6 separate regions of the Homo sapiens genome follow, and all the other regions are linked to region 1. The links are contacts of gene promoters, found by promoter capture Hi-C in blood cells and fetal thymus (Javierre and others, 2016). All regions are on one chromosome and are shown on one strand. The core of a region is centred on a gene start or on the middle of the fragment in contact, and the rest is flanking DNA. Distances in the headings are between cores, read along the strand shown. Region 1 holds the start of RAB4A (RAB4A, member RAS oncogene family). Region 2 holds the start of RHOU (ras homolog family member U). Region 3 has its middle 17 kb from the start of RHOU. Region 4 has its middle 71 kb from the start of RHOU. Region 5 has its middle 50 kb from the start of RHOU. Region 6 has its middle 33 kb from the start of RHOU.

Region 1 (2,830 bases), core at 201-2,700:
TTCACGGACCACACTCCTTCAGAACTCTTGCCTGGTTTTTAATTATTCACTCATTAGTATCACAATTGGATTAATACTGCATTCCCTCAATAGACTACGCTCCATGAGACCAGAGCCGTGTCTGCTGTGTTTCTGCAGGATGTACAGCCCTCCCAGCACGGTGCTCGCTTCCCTAATGCCATTCCACAGTATTTGTTGCAGAGAAGGAAGCAGCATGCCAGGACAGATGGAGACAGGACTAATTTGGCTTGAGGTATGTAATTTTGAACTTGAGCCTCTCTCTGGGACTGTAAAACTCCAAATCAAAGTCTTAATCTGAGAATACATACATCTGAAAGAGTGATTAGGGACTGGTAAACATCTATTAATATTCAACTCTGATACAAAGTACAAGTTGTTTATTCTTACCACGCAAGGCCAAAAAAGGGGAGAAAAAAAAAAAAGCACACAGCATATGCACTGGGAAAGCTTTCGCTTATTCAAAACAGTATTTGTCAAGCACCTCCAGGTCTGGGTGCTGCAGGGGAAACAAAGATTAAACAGCCAGGGCTTTGCTTCCAAGGTGCTTACGGTCTTAAGAAGGAGACAAGACATGTTTATAAATAGCCAAAATGCAACCCAGAAAAGGCTAAAAAACACTGAGAGGGAGGGAGAAATAAACGAAGCAAGAGGTCTCCGGAGGAAGAGATGAATGAATTAGCCTATTAATAACTCCTCACTGTAATCCCAATGTAAAGCAAGGAATTCCAAACCAGGAAAGGTCAAACTGAAGTATTTGAGGAACACAGGCGTCGCCCTAAGCCCTTCACAGGCTCGCTGGGGATAATATCGCAGCTGAAACCGAACATCAAGCTGGCTTTTCAAACCTTCAGTTATTTACATTAGACTGAGAGGGGAAAAGCGCTAAGAGTGCAAGAGCAGAGAAAGAGCAAGAGGAAACTTGAAAAGGCGGATCACGCCAATGCGCTGTGCACAGCGCCCCCGCGCCCCGCGCACCCGCTACCCCACCCGAGCCCCCAGCGGCCCGCGTCCCCCATCCCGGTCCCAAGCCCAGACACCTCCGAGATCCGTCCCCCGGCTCCGGCCGGCGCCACCGCCACCCTCAAGACCCCCGCAGCCCAGGCCCGGCCCCGCGCCACCGACGCCCCCCGCGGCCCGACCCGCGCGCCCCGCCAGCCCGGGCCTCGTACCGTAGGTTTCGGACATGGCCGTCTGCGACATCTTGGGAGCGGCGCCGCCTCTCGCCGGGTCACCGGCTGCACTCGCCCGCGGTCCGCCGGCGCGTCTCGGTGGGGAAGGACCTGGGGCGGGGGACCGGAGGAGGGAGGGGCCCGACCGGTCCCCACGGCAACCGCCGGTCTCCCAGCGGCTGCGGCCCAGCCGGACTCCAGCTCCGCGCAGGCGCAGGGCCCTCCACCCTCCGTCCGGCCGCGACCGCGAGGAGGAAGAGGAGATGGGCTACGCGAGGCCCGGCCCACCCCGCGTTCGCGCGTGCGCACGGGGAGGCCGGGGCGGGGCGCGTGAGGACTTCGGCGCGCGCCGGAAGCACGTGCGCGGGCTGGGCGCTCTGGCGGTGTGCGCTGAGGTGGGCAGAGCGGCAGGTGGGGGCGTTGGGGGCTGAGTCCCGATTTCCCTGAGGGAGGGTCGGGTAGAGGCGGGCGGTGGGCAGGTTTGGGGGTGACAGAGGGCTGGGGACAGTGGGGTCCAGTTGCCGGACAGAGGAGGAAGGTGCCCGCACTGGGGAGGAAAGCAGTCCATTTGCCAAATTGGCCCGTCTCAGTTAAGACGTTGTCTTCGGTCATCATCTGCGGCTGTCAGCCAGGAAAAAACTTCCCTGACGCTGTTACGATGGAGGCCAGAACTTGGTTAATGTGTAACAAGGAGGCAGTAGGCCCCAGGTGTCCAGCCAGAGGCCGCCCTGTGAATGGGAGGCAGGTTCATTTACCCGTTGGGAAGCTAAGCTTTCACTCCAAACTGCCGGGCCCTCTTGGATGGAGCTGAGCGGGTGTGGGCGGAATGACAGAAGCGCAAGATGCCCAGGTGCTAAAAGGTCATCGCAAGACTACAGGCTGCAGCCTCTCCACATCCCATTTTAGAGGGTTCTGGATTACGGTTGAGAAGTATCTCCCGGCCCTCAGCTGGGGATGTGTTTCCAAATTTAGGAGTTTTTTTAATTTTTATTTTTTAACAGGGTCTGGCACTGTCAGCCCAGCCCAACCGATTCTCCTGCCTCAGCCTCCTGAGTAGCTGGGGCTAGGGGCTCACACGACCACACCGCGCCAATTTTTAAATTTTTTGTAGAGATGGGGTCTTGTTATGTTGCCCAGGCTGGTCTTGAACTCCTGAGTTCAAGCATCCTCCCTCCTTGGCCTCCCAAATTGCTGGGATTACAGGCATGAGTCATCTCACCTGGCCTTGGATAGTTTGGTTTCAGAAGCAAAACTGAGTTAGAATCCCCTTCTGTGGGAAATGTAGAGATAAACATTTATGGGAAAGAGAATTTTGGTTGAGGATTTGGCCCATCTGAGCTTGATCAGGGCCACATAGCGCCTCATAGTTCCCAACCTTGTTCACAATAGGTAGTCGAATGCTCAAAATATCCTTGGCTAAGCTCCCAAGTGACCTGGACTGTGTGGAAAATGCCAGTACATACTTTTGTGTGTGTGTGTGTGAGTCAGTTTGGCTCCATCCTCCACATAAATTGGCATCAGAGCTTCCCTCTTCCCCAGTGGCTATTTGGGTCGGTATTTTTCTCTTGTCTCCGATCCTAATAACAAATAAATGCAGTTTTTTCTAAATCACAGAGAAGGCCCCATGGTGAAAAGTTGTG
Region 2 (2,804 bases), core at 82-2,581, 540 kb after region 1:
TCATACTAGTTTCTGTGAATTTTAACTTTTTCTTAAATTTCAAAAAGACCTGAATAGCAAGATAGAGAATTCCTTTCTCTTTGTATCTACCAAGGGAAATGGCATCGCACCCGGTACATAGGAGCTTTAAGTAGCTTAAAGGGATCCTGAAAAGATACCAACAATCAGAATCCGAGCCCATGTGGGCAGGGAAGGTGGTGGGGCTCAGAAGAAAGAAATGGTGTTTACTCTTCAGGTTTCATCCAAACCTAAGCCTTCACGAGGGCCGCTCGCGCTTTTTCACTAAATCAAGTGTTTTCCCGGCGTCTCCGCGGCTCTTTAAAGCGGAGACGCCCCTTGTGAGCTGAGCCGCCTAAAAGCAAAGGAGCGACGCTCAGGTAAAGGCACCTGCGCGTCACCTTCTGATTGAAACTCTGCAGCGGCGCCAGCGACGTCGCCCTCAGGAAACTTTGCTCTATGCAACAAACTGACCGGGCACCCTGAACTCAACCTGTTTCACTCCTACTTATCTGTTGCTTAAATTGTGAGATTTTTTTTTTTTTTTTTTTTGGCAAGGCTCTGACTGCCGCTCCGCCCTCCTCTCTCCAAGCCCACTCCGCCGTGGTCCTTTCGTGTTAGCTCCGCGCTTGCCCGGTCCCTGAGACTCAGGAAACGTCCTGCACTCCTCATTTGTCCGGCTTCCCAGCTGGAGCCGCGCCCGGGGCCCTGCAGCCCCCTTGGGAACCTCGCGACCCTCGCGCCACCTTCCTTCCCCTGGGTGGACCGCGGCCACGCGCCCCCGGCCCCGGCCCCCCGGCCAGCTCACCGGAGAAGTTGTCGAAGGCAGTAGGGATGTACTCGGTGGGGTAGCCGTTGGTGGTGTAGCTCACCACCAGGCTCGTCTTGCCCACCGCGCCGTCGCCGACCAGCACGCACTTGACGCCGCGCCCCTCGGCACCCCCCGCACGCCCCCGGCCCCCCGGCTCCCCAGGCCCGCGTCCCCCGCGTCCACCGCGCTCCCGACGCGGCGGCACCGGAGGCGCCTCGCAGCGGTCGGGGAACGCGGGGTCCCCCTGCTGCGGGGGCATCGATCCGCGAGCGCGGGCTTGCGGTCGCGGGCTAGCAGGGCCCGGCCCGACCGCCCCTCCGCCCCGGAGGGTTGCGGTAGGGAGGAGCTGTCACCGACAGCTGCGGGCGCGTCCCCGGCCCTGGAGAGTGGCGGTTCCGGGCCGCACGGCCAGTAGACAAAGGCGGCCAGGGAGGGTCGTGGCTCCGCGCTCCGGCGGCGCCAGCCGCTCTGCCCTGCGCTGTTGGAGGACAGCGGTCCGAGCGCCGTGGATCCCAAGCGCTCTGTCTCCGCCCGGCTTCCCGGCGACACGACGCGTGGGGGGCGGGCAGGCGGGCGGGCTGGCGGGGAGGGAAAAGAGGCGGGTCTGGCCGAGCGGCTCGGTCCCCGCGCCAAGACCACAGCGCCCCCCGCCTGCGCGCCGCGCGCCTGCACCCGCGCCCGAGGCGCCGCCGCGACCAGGCGGGGACTGCGAACACTGGCGCGGGAGGACCTGGAACACACGTTCCGGGGGACCCCGCGCACCCGGTCCGGGAAGCGACGCCCGAAGGAGCCGGGCCAGCCTCCGCAGCCTCCTCCCCAGCTCCCAAGAGGGTGACCACCGCGCGACTGGCCCGGGAGGTTCCGCTTTCTGGCGCCCACGCGAGCCAGGAAGCCTGAGCCGCCTCCTATTCACTCCGTGGAGCCCCCGGCTGGCCACGGCTCCACCCAGGGGGAAAAATGAAGTGTCCTGGAGGCCTGTCCTGCGAATGAGATTGAATTAACAGACAGCTTTTTTCCTTAAGTCTAACTGCAGCTGATCGTGTGATTTTTTCTCATTTTGAAGCAAAAGGATGCCAGCTCCATTGTGAATGCTCCTTTGACTTTGTCTTTCGGCATGCCGTGAACCTTTATACATGTATGCTCCAGAAATTTTTTTATACCCCCAATTCCTTCATTTACTTAAAGGTAATTCGGAGACATTAATATGTCTGAAAAAATATTCCGTTTCCCTTTGATTCATTTCTCTCTCTGCCTTCCTTCTACATGTGGTCAACAGTCTATTCAGAAAAAGGACGCCTCTTAGCCAAGTCAGAATACCAAGAGTCCTGGGGGTGTACAGCGTGGTGTGAGAAGGGCCACATATTATTAATACACATTGATACTAGTGGTAGTAAAAATAACAATAACAAATACTGAACTTTCATAATGTGTCAGATACTGTTGTAAGCACTCTTCAAGAACTAATTCTTTTAATCTTAACATTACTTACAGATGAGAACACCTGAGGCACAGAGATATTAAGTAACGTTTTGGGATTCCACAAGCTAGTAAGTGGCAATGCCAGGATCCAAACCCAAATAGTCTAGCCCCAGAGCCTGAGCTTCTAACCAAAATCCTGGAGGCAAAAATAAGTCAGTATGATAAACGTAATCTTGAACGTATGGCCATGGTCAGAATGCAGAGATGGATTTATCAAGAAGTTAGAAGCTTGAATCCAGGACCCCTGACTTGCAAAGGACACTTTCACATTGGAAGACCTAGCAATGTGTACACGTGGTAATATGTTTCTGTAAATTTTGAAAAAAAAAAAAGTATTTTAATCACCACCAGTTATGTTCACTGTCTTTTTAAACTGTAACTTACCCTCATATTGAGTGACTTTGAAGAGGCCATGAAGATTTTGGGGATCAGCCAAAGAAAGTGAAGTTGGGGAGACCCAAACAGGTTGTTTGGGTGTAATGGGATACAGAATCAGGATGAAGGTGAGATAAGGGGG
Region 3 (2,700 bases), core at 22-2,521, 550 kb after region 1:
TAGTATGTATTATGTATGGAAAATTACATGATAATCAATTTTCTGTTGTTTTAAAATGTTTGTTGTTTGTACACACACAAAAAACTGTGCTGAAGTGCCCATAATCTAATAGGAGTCCTTTTTTTTCTTTTAATTTTCTGTAGAGACGGGGTCTCGCTATGTTGCCCAGGCTGGTATCAAACTCCTGGCCTCAAGTGATCCTCCTGCTTTAGCCTCCAAAGTTGCTCGGATTATGGACATGAGCCACCTTGCCTGGCTTCTAATAGGAATTCTTATGATTATACTGTGAGACCAAATATAAATGTTCATAAAAGGGTGCTTATGTCTAACTTTTTTAAAAGATACGGCGATATTTTAATGTAATTTTCTTGGATTATTTTAGGTCTGCTTGGGAGCAATGATAGTATTCTCAAAAGAAGTAATAACCAGTGCAGGTCAGGAGAGAAAGCTACTGAATTAAGAAAAGATAAATTATTTAAAGGTAAATCAAAAGGACTGGCCAACCTGAATTCAGTTGCAGTTTTATCATTTTTTTTGTTGTTGTTGTTTGCTTGTATGTTTTTTGTTTTGTTTTAAGACAGAGTCATGTTCTGTCGCCCGGGCTGGAGTGCAGTGGTGTGATCCCAGCTCACTGCAAACTCCACCCCCAGGGTTCAAGTGATCCTCCCTCCTTAGCCTCCCAAGTAGCTGGGATTACAAGTGTGCACCACCATGCCCGGCTAATTTTTATATTTTTAGTAGAGGTGGGGTTTCACCATGTTGGCCAGGCTGGTCTCGAACTCCAGACCTCAAGTGATTCACCAACCTCAGCTTTCCAAAGTGCGGGGACTACAGGCGTGAGCCACCACACCCAGCCCAATTATTAATTGTGTGATTTTGAGCCTCAGTAAATATTAGTTCCCTTTTCCTTGATTAGTGTGATAATATACTCCAGAAACAGAATAGTGTGCTAATGACTTTTGGAAAACACACGATTTTATAAATTGAAAATCCAACAGTTTTTATTGTTTCTTTAGAGAATCAAGGCACAAAGTAAATGATCAATAAACATTGGATGAATGCATGGATTGATGAATACATGGATTGATCAACCAATGGATAGATAGGAAAGCAAAATGATACAGGAATATAGAAGGATGTTTTTCTAAGTCTCACTTGATCTGAACTGTAACCAAATATTGACATGGCTGGTGAAGCCATCAGGATACTCCACTCCTCCTCCTTCTACTCTCATATACCCCCTCCAACATAGGTGCTGTAGAATAGATGCCATTAAAGGGCTTTCTAAAATTAAATTTCAAACCTTTTAGACGATATATTCTGTTTTAAAGCCATACTTCCTTTTGATCTCTCAACTGGCTGATTTGAGTTGGTGCTGACACCAGATTTAGTTCACTCCCTCTCAAAACCTGCTTCCCTGCCTAGTAAGAGATGCACTCCCTCCTGCAGTGAGCATCCAGGGTCACCCGCAGTGGACATTCCCAGTTCATGTTCTGGCGGAAGTGTTTATAGCAGTCTACAACCAACCTGGTCCTCCTGGTTCACACCTTAGACTCTAGGCTTCTGGATGAGAAAGACAGTTTTCTAAGTTCTCTCACATAGTCTGCATCTGAGCTTTAAACCACCTTGTACTTATTCTGCATATGCTTCCCTCCTTTCAGAAAGTTCCCTAAGACTCTGGGCCTCTACTTGTCTAATACTTGTTTCAACCCATTTCTTTATCCTGTTGATAAAGGCAGTTTTGATGCTTACTGAAGCTCAGCTTTTTCTACACTCTTCTAGACTGGCAAAGGGCATATCTAAGACAGCCCCAATAATCCTGCCTCCTGGAATTCATGAGTCTCATGAGTCAGAACCACCCAATTAAACTGCTCCCCAATTCCTAACTCACATAAACTTGTTGTTTTCAGCCATTATATTCTGGGCTAATTTTTTAGGTGGCAATAGATAACTAATATACTTCCCAAGCTGTCCAAACCTTAATTGTAGATTCCATCTGTCCTTAAAACTTATTTGCATCATCCTACCATCTTCCCAGCATGGCTACAAGCAAACTTCTTGATTCTCCCTATTTCAAAGCTGTTCTTTCTCCTAAGCCCATTCACTGGAAAGCAATGGATGCATCTTTTTTGGAGGACGTAGGGGAACTCAGGGTATCACCACTTCCTGTCACCTCCCCAGGTTCTCATTATGATCTCTAATTTAAGTGTCCCCAAGGAAATGGTCTTTTGGAATCCTATTTTTAAATACTGAGTTATCTATCTTTACTATGTAGAATAAGAACAGACATAATGTTCTCAAAGGAGGTCAGCCCAGATGAAATGATTGATACATATGTCCTATCCTTTATATTCAGACATGACACTACCCTGCTGGTCCAATGTGTTAATGGAGGGCATGGAATTACCCGAATTTTTTATTGTGTCCAGTTCTTCTGATCTTGAATTAACTTTTTAAATGACTGGCTGGATTCATGGGAGCTGTCCATGGAACAGTTCCTGTGTCCAGAAACACATAACTGGATTAGGTTGAGAAGGAAGTAGGGCGCCACTCTCATTAACTGAAATGACTGGCCACCAATAAAATATCTGTTTATGGTAAGATCATTCCACTAAAGCTGACTCTCAACTTTTTCCTACATCAAGATGTCAGAGAGCATGCCTCCGGCATAACTCAGTAACAGTATTTCACCTTGGCATT
Region 4 (2,757 bases), core at 103-2,602, 610 kb after region 1:
ACTCCAGCCTTGGTGAGAGCAAGGTTCTGTCAAAAAAAAAAGAACACTTCTAGATGCTGGGGTGAAGAAGGCTTTTGTCCATCTTGTGTTAATTATGACCTTTTTATTCTGTATTTTTGATGCTTTGACATCTTGGGGCCTTGCTGACCCTGGAGGGACTGCTTTCTCCCAGGGTAGAAGGTATTACTATTTGAACCACTAGACTGAGTCAAAATGATCTGTCCTCACCAATGTGGATAGGCATTATTCTTCCAATTCCTTGAAGGTCTCAACAGAACAAAAAGACAGGGGAAGGACAAATTTGCTCTTTATTCTGGAGCTAGGACATCCAACTTCTGCTCTCTGACATCAGAACTGCAGGTTCTCAATCCTGGGACTCTGGGACTCATATTAGTGTTCCCCATCCCACTCTACTCAAAGATATATTACTGTCCCCACTCCACTCAAAGATATATTACTGTTCCCCACTCCACTCTACCAAAGATACCTGATTTGAGTCACTCAGAAGACTAGGTAGGGGTTTATTGAGGGAGCTGGCAACCCATCCCCGACATGTGTGACCCAGCCAGAACCAGAGCAGTAGGAGCCTCACTGCCTTCACCCTAGTGCTGCCACGTAGAGCAGCTAGAGCCTCTCCTGTGGACTCAAGCCTGACAGTGGGAGTTCCCTTGGGAAGGTAGGATCACCTTCACCTCTTTATCTTGGTTTCTTTATCGGTACAATGGAAATGGTAATAATAGTACCTAAATCTTGGGGTTATCATAAAGATTAAAGTAATTAAAGCATGTGAAGTGCTTAGACCATGCCTAGTGCATAGCAGGCACTTTATAATCATTTACTTCAATAAAAACATAGGTCCTGGAGCCAAAGGCTTGACCTTAATTGATATGTGAACCAGGTAAAAGTCACTTAGCCATTCTGAGTTTCAGTTTTCTTATTTGTAAAATGAAAATAAAATAGTACCTATCTTGAAGGGTTTTCATGAAGATTAAATAAGCTAATAGGAAGAAATCACCATAACAGCCTGGCACCACAAATGTTAGTTAATAAAGCTTGGCAAGCCGGGCACGGTGGCTCACACCTGTAATCCCAGCACTTTGGGAGGCCGAGGCGGATGGATCACCTGAGGTCGGTGGATCACCTGAGGTCAGGATTTCGAGACCAAAATGGCCAACATGGTGAAACCCCATCTCTACCAAAATACAAAAAATTAGCCGGTCATGGTGGCAGGCGCCTGTAAACCCAGCTACTCGGGAGGCTGAAGCAGAAGAATTGCTTGAACCTGGGAGACGGAGGTTGCAATGAGCTGAGATTGCGCCATTGCACTCCAGCCTGGGCAACAAGGACAAACCTCTGTCTCAAAATCAATCAATCTTGGCAATGAACACGGGTTCCTCCTGGCAAAGGTTTTGGCTCTGTGGGGTAATGCTGCCCTCTGCCGGACAATTTGGTTTCTTGCTTTGTTTGTTTTAATAAACTGTTGGGTTTTTTCCCAAAGTCCCACCCCACCTAGCAAAAAGGTTAACATTCTTCATAAAGATTATTTTCTCAGAATACGTTTCTGAGAAAATGAGTACAAACATGATTTGTTGATTCGCTATCCGCAAATGGCTTTCCTCATTTGAGGAACAAATGAGCCACTTGGAAGCTTACTTGGGCTGCAATTTTATTTCCAATTTTATCTTTATGAAGAAATCCAGGCCGAGCGCAGCGGCTCACACCTGTAATCCCAACACTTTGGGAGGCCGAGGAGGGCCGATGCCCAGGAGTTCGAGACCAGCCTGGGAAATATGGAGAAACCTCGCCTCTACAAAAACTACAAAAAATTAGCCGAGCCTGGTGGCACACATCTGTAGTCCCAGCTACTCGGTAGGCTGAAGTGGGAGATCACGCGAGCCCGAGAGGTCAAGACTGCAGTGAGCCGTGATAGTGCCACTGCTCTCCAGCCTGGGCGACAGAAGATAAGAAAAGAAGAGAAGGGAAGAGAAAAAAAGGAGAGGGGAGAGGAGGGGAGGGGAGGGGAGGGGAGGGAAGGGGAGGGGAGGGGAGGGGAGAAGAAAAAGAAATCCAGCTATGTTGGCCGGGCGTGGCGGCTCGCGCCTGTAATCCCAGCACTTTGAGAGGCCAAGGCGGGTGGATCACTTGAGGTCAGGAGTTCGGGACCAGCCTGGCCAACATGGTGAAGCCCCGTCTCTACTAAAAATACAAAAATTAGCCAGGTATGGTGTCGCGCGCGCGTAATCCCAGCTACGTGGGAGGCTGAGGCAGGAGAATCGCTTGATCTCGGGAGGCGGAGGTTGCAGTGAGTTGAGATCATGCCACTGCACCCCAGCCTGGGGGACAGAGTGAAATTCCGTCTCAAAAAAAAAAAAAAAAAAAAAAAAAGAAAAGAAAAGAAAAGAAAAGAAAAACAGAAAAGAAAAATAAAAATAAAGAAAAATAATGTCAGCTATGTGTTGAGATATTGCTGCTTAATTTTTTTTAACTTTTCTTTTTTCTTCTTAAACTCAATAGTAAGAATATGCTTAACTTTTCCGATTTTCCTTATTATTGCTTTCCTATGAGTTGAGAATATTGTGATAAGTGCCTAGTCTGGTAATTTGCACACACATTGTATTCTCTTGTTACAGTTACAGTGTGATAAAATAAATAAATGAAAAGTCATAGCATGGCAAAAAGTATAGCACTTGAAACACTGTAGTGTGCTAGTTGCCTCACTGTGGTTTGTGATGTGTCTAAAGCAAGGGGAAATAATGA
Region 5 (2,700 bases), core at 52-2,551, 590 kb after region 1:
GATTATCAAGGCTTTAAAAGTTAGGAATTTAACATTTTAAGAGCTGACTCTGTTGCCAGACCAGACCTTTAAAAAGCCATTGCTTTTCATAGCAAAAACCGCAATGAGTTTTGCACCGACCCAATACTAAAAGAGGGCAAGTGCTCACCATGGCTTGCACTAAATATCAGTTGTCTCATGGTGTAGGAGAGTATTCCTCTAGATTTCTGAAACTGAAATTCAGAAATATATTGTCAAACATAATAGGTTTTAAACTGCAAATATGTAATTATTGTATTTTATATATTTTTATTGTTTTATTGCCATTTTAGAAATTTTAAGCATACAATTCAATGGCATTAATTATATTCATAATGTTGTACAACTATCACCACTATTTCCAAAATATTTCATCTCCTCAAACAGAAACTCTTTATTATAATAATATTAGTTAATAAAACACATTGAGTAACTACAAAGTACTAATCACTATATAGCTATTGTTTCATTTAAATATCATAGAAACCTCATGAGTTAGTTATTTTTATTTTATTCATGAAGAAGTTGAAGATAAGGGAGATTTAACTAATTCCTCTAAATCTAATAAGTAGCAAAATTATAACTAAAACTCAAATATAACACAACCCTATAAGCAAGTCAGATTTTGGGGTCAATGGACTAATACAAAAGTCTGATCACTAACTTACATTGTGTTTCCTCTTAATGGTTTTATTTCATCTTCATATAATAAGATGTCAAAGTGTAAAACTCTGATCTTATAAACTCTGATCAGAATAAAATTACTAAGATTCTTGGCTTTAAAAATGCTTCCATTTACAGATTCTTTTAATAATAGCTCTGGGGATAATTAAGGGTTGCACTAGATTAACTCTTGAAGAGAAAGGAGTCGGTAGACAAAAAAGTTCTGAGTGTCAAATGCTACTGATTAAGGGTTTCACTAAAGGAGAACAAAGAGGTTTTTCAATTAGAATGTAAGTCAATGAGAAGATTAATTTTGATTAACAGAAATACATTTAACCTATATATAATTTTAACAGGAAGATATATATTCACATACAGTCATTTCATGAGTCTCTGAATACTTTAGTTATCTTCTAAAACTCTCAAATTCCCCAGTAAATTCTCAGAGCAGTATCCTATCATTCTCTGGCTCCAAATGCTCAATAGATTTCCATTTTAATTTTTCACAGAATCAACCATCCAGAGAATGGTGCTCCATTTGGTTCCAGTTTTGTTTCTCCTAATTTCCCTTTGTGGTCATTTCTCTTTACAGCATTTGCTCTCTTTCTAGTCTCTCACTCTGAGTTTCAGTTTCCAAGTATTTGTTAAAACTCATTCCCAAATTCCTACTGTCAGAGGCATTGGAACCAGAGCAACTCCATCTTAATAGAGGCTGGGTAAAATAAGGCTGAGGCCTACTGGGCTGCATTCCCAGACACTTAAGGCATTCTAAGTCACAGGATGAGATAAGAAGTCAGCACAAGATACAGGTCATAAAGACCTTGCTGACAGAACAGACTGCAGTAAAGAAGCCAGCCAAAACCCACCAATACCAAGATGGCAATGAGAGTGACCTCTGGTCATCCTCACTGCTACGCTCCTACCAGCACCATGGCAGTTTACAAATGTCATGGCAATGTCAGGAAGTTACCCTATATAGCCTAAAAATGGGAGACATAAATAATGCACCCGTTGTTTAGAATATCATCAAAAAATAACCATAGAAATAGGCAACCAGCAGCTCTCGGAGTAGCTGGTCTGCTCTGTCTATGGAGTAGCCGTTCTTTTATTCCTCCACTTTCCTAGTAAACTTGCTTTCACTTTACAAACTCGTCCTGAATTCTTTCTTACACAAGATCAAGAACACTCTCTTAGGGTCTGAGCTATTATCGGGACCGTTTCCTGGAACAGCACCACGTTCCCTTTTGGTCTGCAAGCCAGAAACTGGAAGTCATCCTTGTGGTTCCTTCTCCCTCACCCTCACAACTACTCTATTACCAGAGCCTGCATGTTTTTTCCTGCCTTATGGGGGTGGCTGCAAAATCTAGCACCCAAACAGGAACGATTCTGAGAGTGAAAAGGACTAATATTAACAGTTATGTCAGCAGGGCACAGTAGATCACGCCTGTAATCCCAATACTTAGGCCGAGACACGTGGATCACTTGAGCCCAGGAGTTCAAAACTAGCCTGGCCAACATGGCAAAACACCATTTCTACAAAAAATACAAAAATTAGCCGGGCATGGTGGTGCACGCCTGTAGTCCCAGCTACTCAGGGGGCTGCGGTGGAAGGATCACTTTAGCCCAGGAGGTGGAGGTTGCAATGTGCCAGATCTTGCCACTGCACTCCAGCCTGGATGACACATGAGACCTAGTCTCAAAAAACAAACTGGCCAGGCGCAGTGGCTCACATGGGTAATCTCAGCACAGTGGGAGGCTGAGGCGGGAGGATCACCTGAGGTCAGCAGTTCAAGACCAGCCTGGCCATCAGGGTGAAACCCTATCGCTACTAAAAATACAAAAATTAGACCATCATGGTGGCACACACCTGTAATCCCAGCTATCAGGAGGCTGAGGCAGGAGAATTGCTTGAACCTGGGAGCTGGAGGTTGCAGTGAGCCGAGATCATGCCACTGCACTCCAGCCTGGGCGACAGAGCAAGACTCCGTCTCAAAAAGAAAGAAAGAAACAAACAAAAAC
Region 6 (2,700 bases), core at 194-2,693, 570 kb after region 1:
GTGGGGGCTTCCAGGTCATAAAACAAAAGGTTGCATTATTTTGAGTCCTTGATGAGCCTTCCACTGGATACAAAATATAGTCTGGCTCAGTGAATCTTCATTTTTACATAAACAATAGGGCAGAGGAAGCAATCAGATATGCATTTGTCTAAGGTGAGCCTCAGAAGGAGACTTGGAGTTCTATCTTTCCGTTGTCCACCAAGAATTTCCTTGTGGGCAAATTGTGAGGGAGGTATGTCACTTTTTATCTTTGTAGCTATCTTATTTAGGAATGAAATGGGAGGCAGGGTGCCTGACATAGGTCCCAGCTTGACTTTTCCCTTGGCTCAGTGATTTGGGGTCCTAAGATTTATTTTCCTTACACATATCCCAACCAAAGGCAAAAAGAAAGCTATCCTGGATACAGTGTTTATAAAAAGTAGGCCCTCAGATTAAATGGCCTTGATTCTTTTTCAAAGCTATCCATGCTAAGTCCAGGTATAGAGAATGCTTTAATTGCTGTGTTTCTTAATGAGCTCCATCCTGAACTCAGTAGTTTTAGCTAAGAAAAAGTAGCTAAGTTAAGAAGACCACCTATTAAACTAAAACAGTCTCTAAAATATACTTTTCTGGCATTTAGCTGGCTATCTTAAAACACTTTTTTTTTTTCAGAGATGGAGTCTCACTCTGTTGCCCAGTCTGGAGTGCAGTGGCGCGATCTCAGCTCACTGCAACCATCACCTCCCGGGTTCACGCCATTCTCCTGCCTCAGCCTCCCGAGTAGCTGGGACTACAGGTGCCCACCACCACACCTGGCTAATTTTTTCTATTTTTAGTAGAGACGGGGTTTCACCATGTTAGCCAGGATGGTCTCGATCTCCTGACCTCATGATCCGCGCGCCTCGGCCTCCCAAAGTGCTGGGATTACAGATGTGAGACGCCGCGCCTGGCCCCAAAACACTTTTATAGGAGAAATTTATATCTCTAAAAGAAATTTCCATTTGAAAGGGTGTCTGAGAGGGAGGACTGGGTCACTAGAAACTCTTACTGTTGTTTTAAATGTACATACATTGTCTTGCCTTTGTTTAAGGTGCTTTTCCAGGCCATGCTGCCTTAACCGGATCTTTATGTACAATCTTTTCCCTTGGTTTGAGCAACTGATAGTACAATATTTAGGCCTAAAATCTCAGCTCTGTGCTTTTGAGAATTTTCTACCTTGTTTCACCTAAGAGTCATCCCTTTAGGAGGCAGATTGTGGAGTAGCTAACAACTACTTAGAGCAATAAAACAGATAGTTCTAAGACTGATAGTATGAATGGGGAAAAGAAAAACTATTTGAAAGCTGACAAATGAGAATTCTTCATGGAAGCTTTAAGACCTGCTTGTGTCTATATGTCTATATGTGTATGTGATACTATTTGGTGAAGAAAGCTAGTTTTTAAATTGTTGGTAAAATAAAATAAAAAAATGACTTCAGAATTGTCACTTAAAGATAATATAGATATTTATGCCTGAGTCTACTGGTCAGACAGGTTTATGCTATCTCTGCTTCAAGCTTTAAGGTCATAAAACTTCTGCTTCTGTTATGTTTTTGATATTTGCTTGATTTGACTGTGAGCTTATGTTTTTGTTTTCCGAGCCTCTGGATTCTGGGGTCCAGACAGGTGACCTTGGTAACATATGGGGACATGTCCTCAGTGTCTATATCACCACCTACAGGGCACAGTCAAGCTCAAAATGACCCCTTTCTCCCTGGCCCAGCTTTGCCTCCTGGCCATTCTGTGAAGGGCTGAATGCTCCAGTCATCATCTTCATAGCTGTCTTCTGTCCTGAATTCTATACCTAGTATGTAAATTTAGGACCCAGATGGGACCTCCCCTTATAGCCATCCTAGGTGTCATGTGGCTACTTGAGACCCAGGATGACTGGGAAAAACATTAGAAAGGGTACTTGTATCATAGTATTAATATTCTTTTCAGTAATTTAAATCTTAAAGTCATATTATTTTAAATTAAGTACCAGATAATCATAAAATGTCTGAGTTTTTTTACAAGTATGTTAAAATACTAAAACATTAATTATTAAACATAAATTTAAGTTTATATAATTTGGCATCTTATTTTTCTGTGATATAAAAAAGCTAAATATATGTAGATCTGTTAATGAACAAAAATTTGAGCAAACATATCTTTGTAAAAATTATAAAATGGTTTTCATCTATAAATACTGATATAAAACAGTTCAGAATTACTTTTTAGACTTTTACTGAAAATTAGGGTGACTAAGAGTTAAAATTATAGTTAACATATGTAATTAAAACTACATATATAAGAGAATTCTATATACAAAGTGTACTAACAAAAAAGACATGCTTTGATTAAAAAAAAGCTGTAAAAGAATACAAATACATAGCTGTTGAGAAAAAATTACTTTGTCCAGTTTAGAAGTTACTTAAATATTATTTTACGATAAAAGAATTTTAAAAGATATAAATAAAACTAAATAATATTAAAAGTCAGGAAGAAAAAGAATTTTTAAAATTTTGTAAGAGATTATAAAACATTTATGAAATCTGCATGGTCAAAAGCTGACTGAGATTAGTTTGTTTATAAGGTTTTATTAAAATCAGCTTTAATATTGATAATTCATTAATACAAAAGCAAACTTTGGTTTTCTCTTTTAAACAAGATTTTTGTAAAGTAATAATAAGAGATAATAAAA

Evidence for each region. The method cuts DNA at HindIII sites, captures the fragments that hold promoters and counts their contacts. A CHiCAGO score of 5 or more calls a contact.
Region 2: a contact is called between the fragment with the promoter of RHOU here and the fragment with the promoter of RAB4A in region 1, in 15 of 17 cell types (total CD4 T cells, naive CD8 T cells, monocytes and 12 more). The highest score is 41.6, in total CD4 T cells.
Region 3: a fragment that was not itself captured here is called in contact with the fragment with the promoter of RAB4A in region 1 in 2 of 17 cell types (naive CD4 T cells and neutrophils); the score reaches 7.3 in naive CD4 T cells.
Region 4: a fragment that was not itself captured here is called in contact with the fragment with the promoter of RAB4A in region 1 in 14 of 17 cell types (fetal thymus, naive CD4 T cells, total CD8 T cells and 11 more); the score reaches 20.2 in fetal thymus.
Region 5: a fragment that was not itself captured here is called in contact with the fragment with the promoter of RAB4A in region 1 in 2 of 17 cell types (naive CD8 T cells and naive CD4 T cells); the score reaches 5.8 in naive CD8 T cells.
Region 6: a fragment that was not itself captured here is called in contact with the fragment with the promoter of RAB4A in region 1 in 6 of 17 cell types (naive CD4 T cells, total CD4 T cells, total CD8 T cells and 3 more); the score reaches 8.4 in naive CD4 T cells.

The regions. Positions count from the first base shown.
Region 1 is chr1:229,269,731-229,272,560 of GRCh38, reverse strand. It overlaps RAB4A (RAB4A, member RAS oncogene family), which reads right to left and starts at 1,450. Exons shown (of 8, transcript NM_004578.4): 1 at 1,191-1,450. The coding sequence starts at 1,221. It overlaps RAB4A-AS1 (RAB4A antisense RNA 1), which reads left to right and starts at 1,407. Exons shown (of 2, transcript NR_149313.1): 1 at 1,407-1,585. RefSeq lists silencers at 909-1,068, 1,109-1,638. The HindIII fragment of the contact is 1,493 bases long and covers 471-1,963 here.
Region 2 is chr1:228,734,006-228,736,809 of GRCh38, reverse strand. RHOU (ras homolog family member U) reads right to left here and starts at 1,331. Exons shown (of 3, transcript NM_021205.6): 1 at 806-1,331. The coding sequence starts at 1,067. The HindIII fragment of the contact is 4,915 bases long and covers 1-2,517 here.
Region 3 is chr1:228,717,604-228,720,303 of GRCh38, reverse strand. It overlaps a transcript of RHOU not described here. Among named protein-coding and RNA genes, the nearest start is that of RHOU, 17 kb to the left of the region's middle. The HindIII fragment of the contact is 4,933 bases long and covers 1-2,700 here.
Region 4 is chr1:228,663,254-228,666,010 of GRCh38, reverse strand. It overlaps a transcript of RHOU not described here. Among named protein-coding and RNA genes, the nearest start is that of RHOU, 71 kb to the left of the region's middle. The HindIII fragment of the contact is 596 bases long and covers 1,055-1,650 here.
Region 5 is chr1:228,684,028-228,686,727 of GRCh38, reverse strand. It overlaps a transcript of RHOU not described here. Among named protein-coding and RNA genes, the nearest start is that of RHOU, 50 kb to the left of the region's middle. The HindIII fragment of the contact is 9,589 bases long and covers 1-2,700 here.
Region 6 is chr1:228,701,476-228,704,175 of GRCh38, reverse strand. It overlaps a transcript of RHOU not described here. Among named protein-coding and RNA genes, the nearest start is that of RHOU, 33 kb to the left of the region's middle. The HindIII fragment of the contact is 186 bases long and covers 1,351-1,536 here.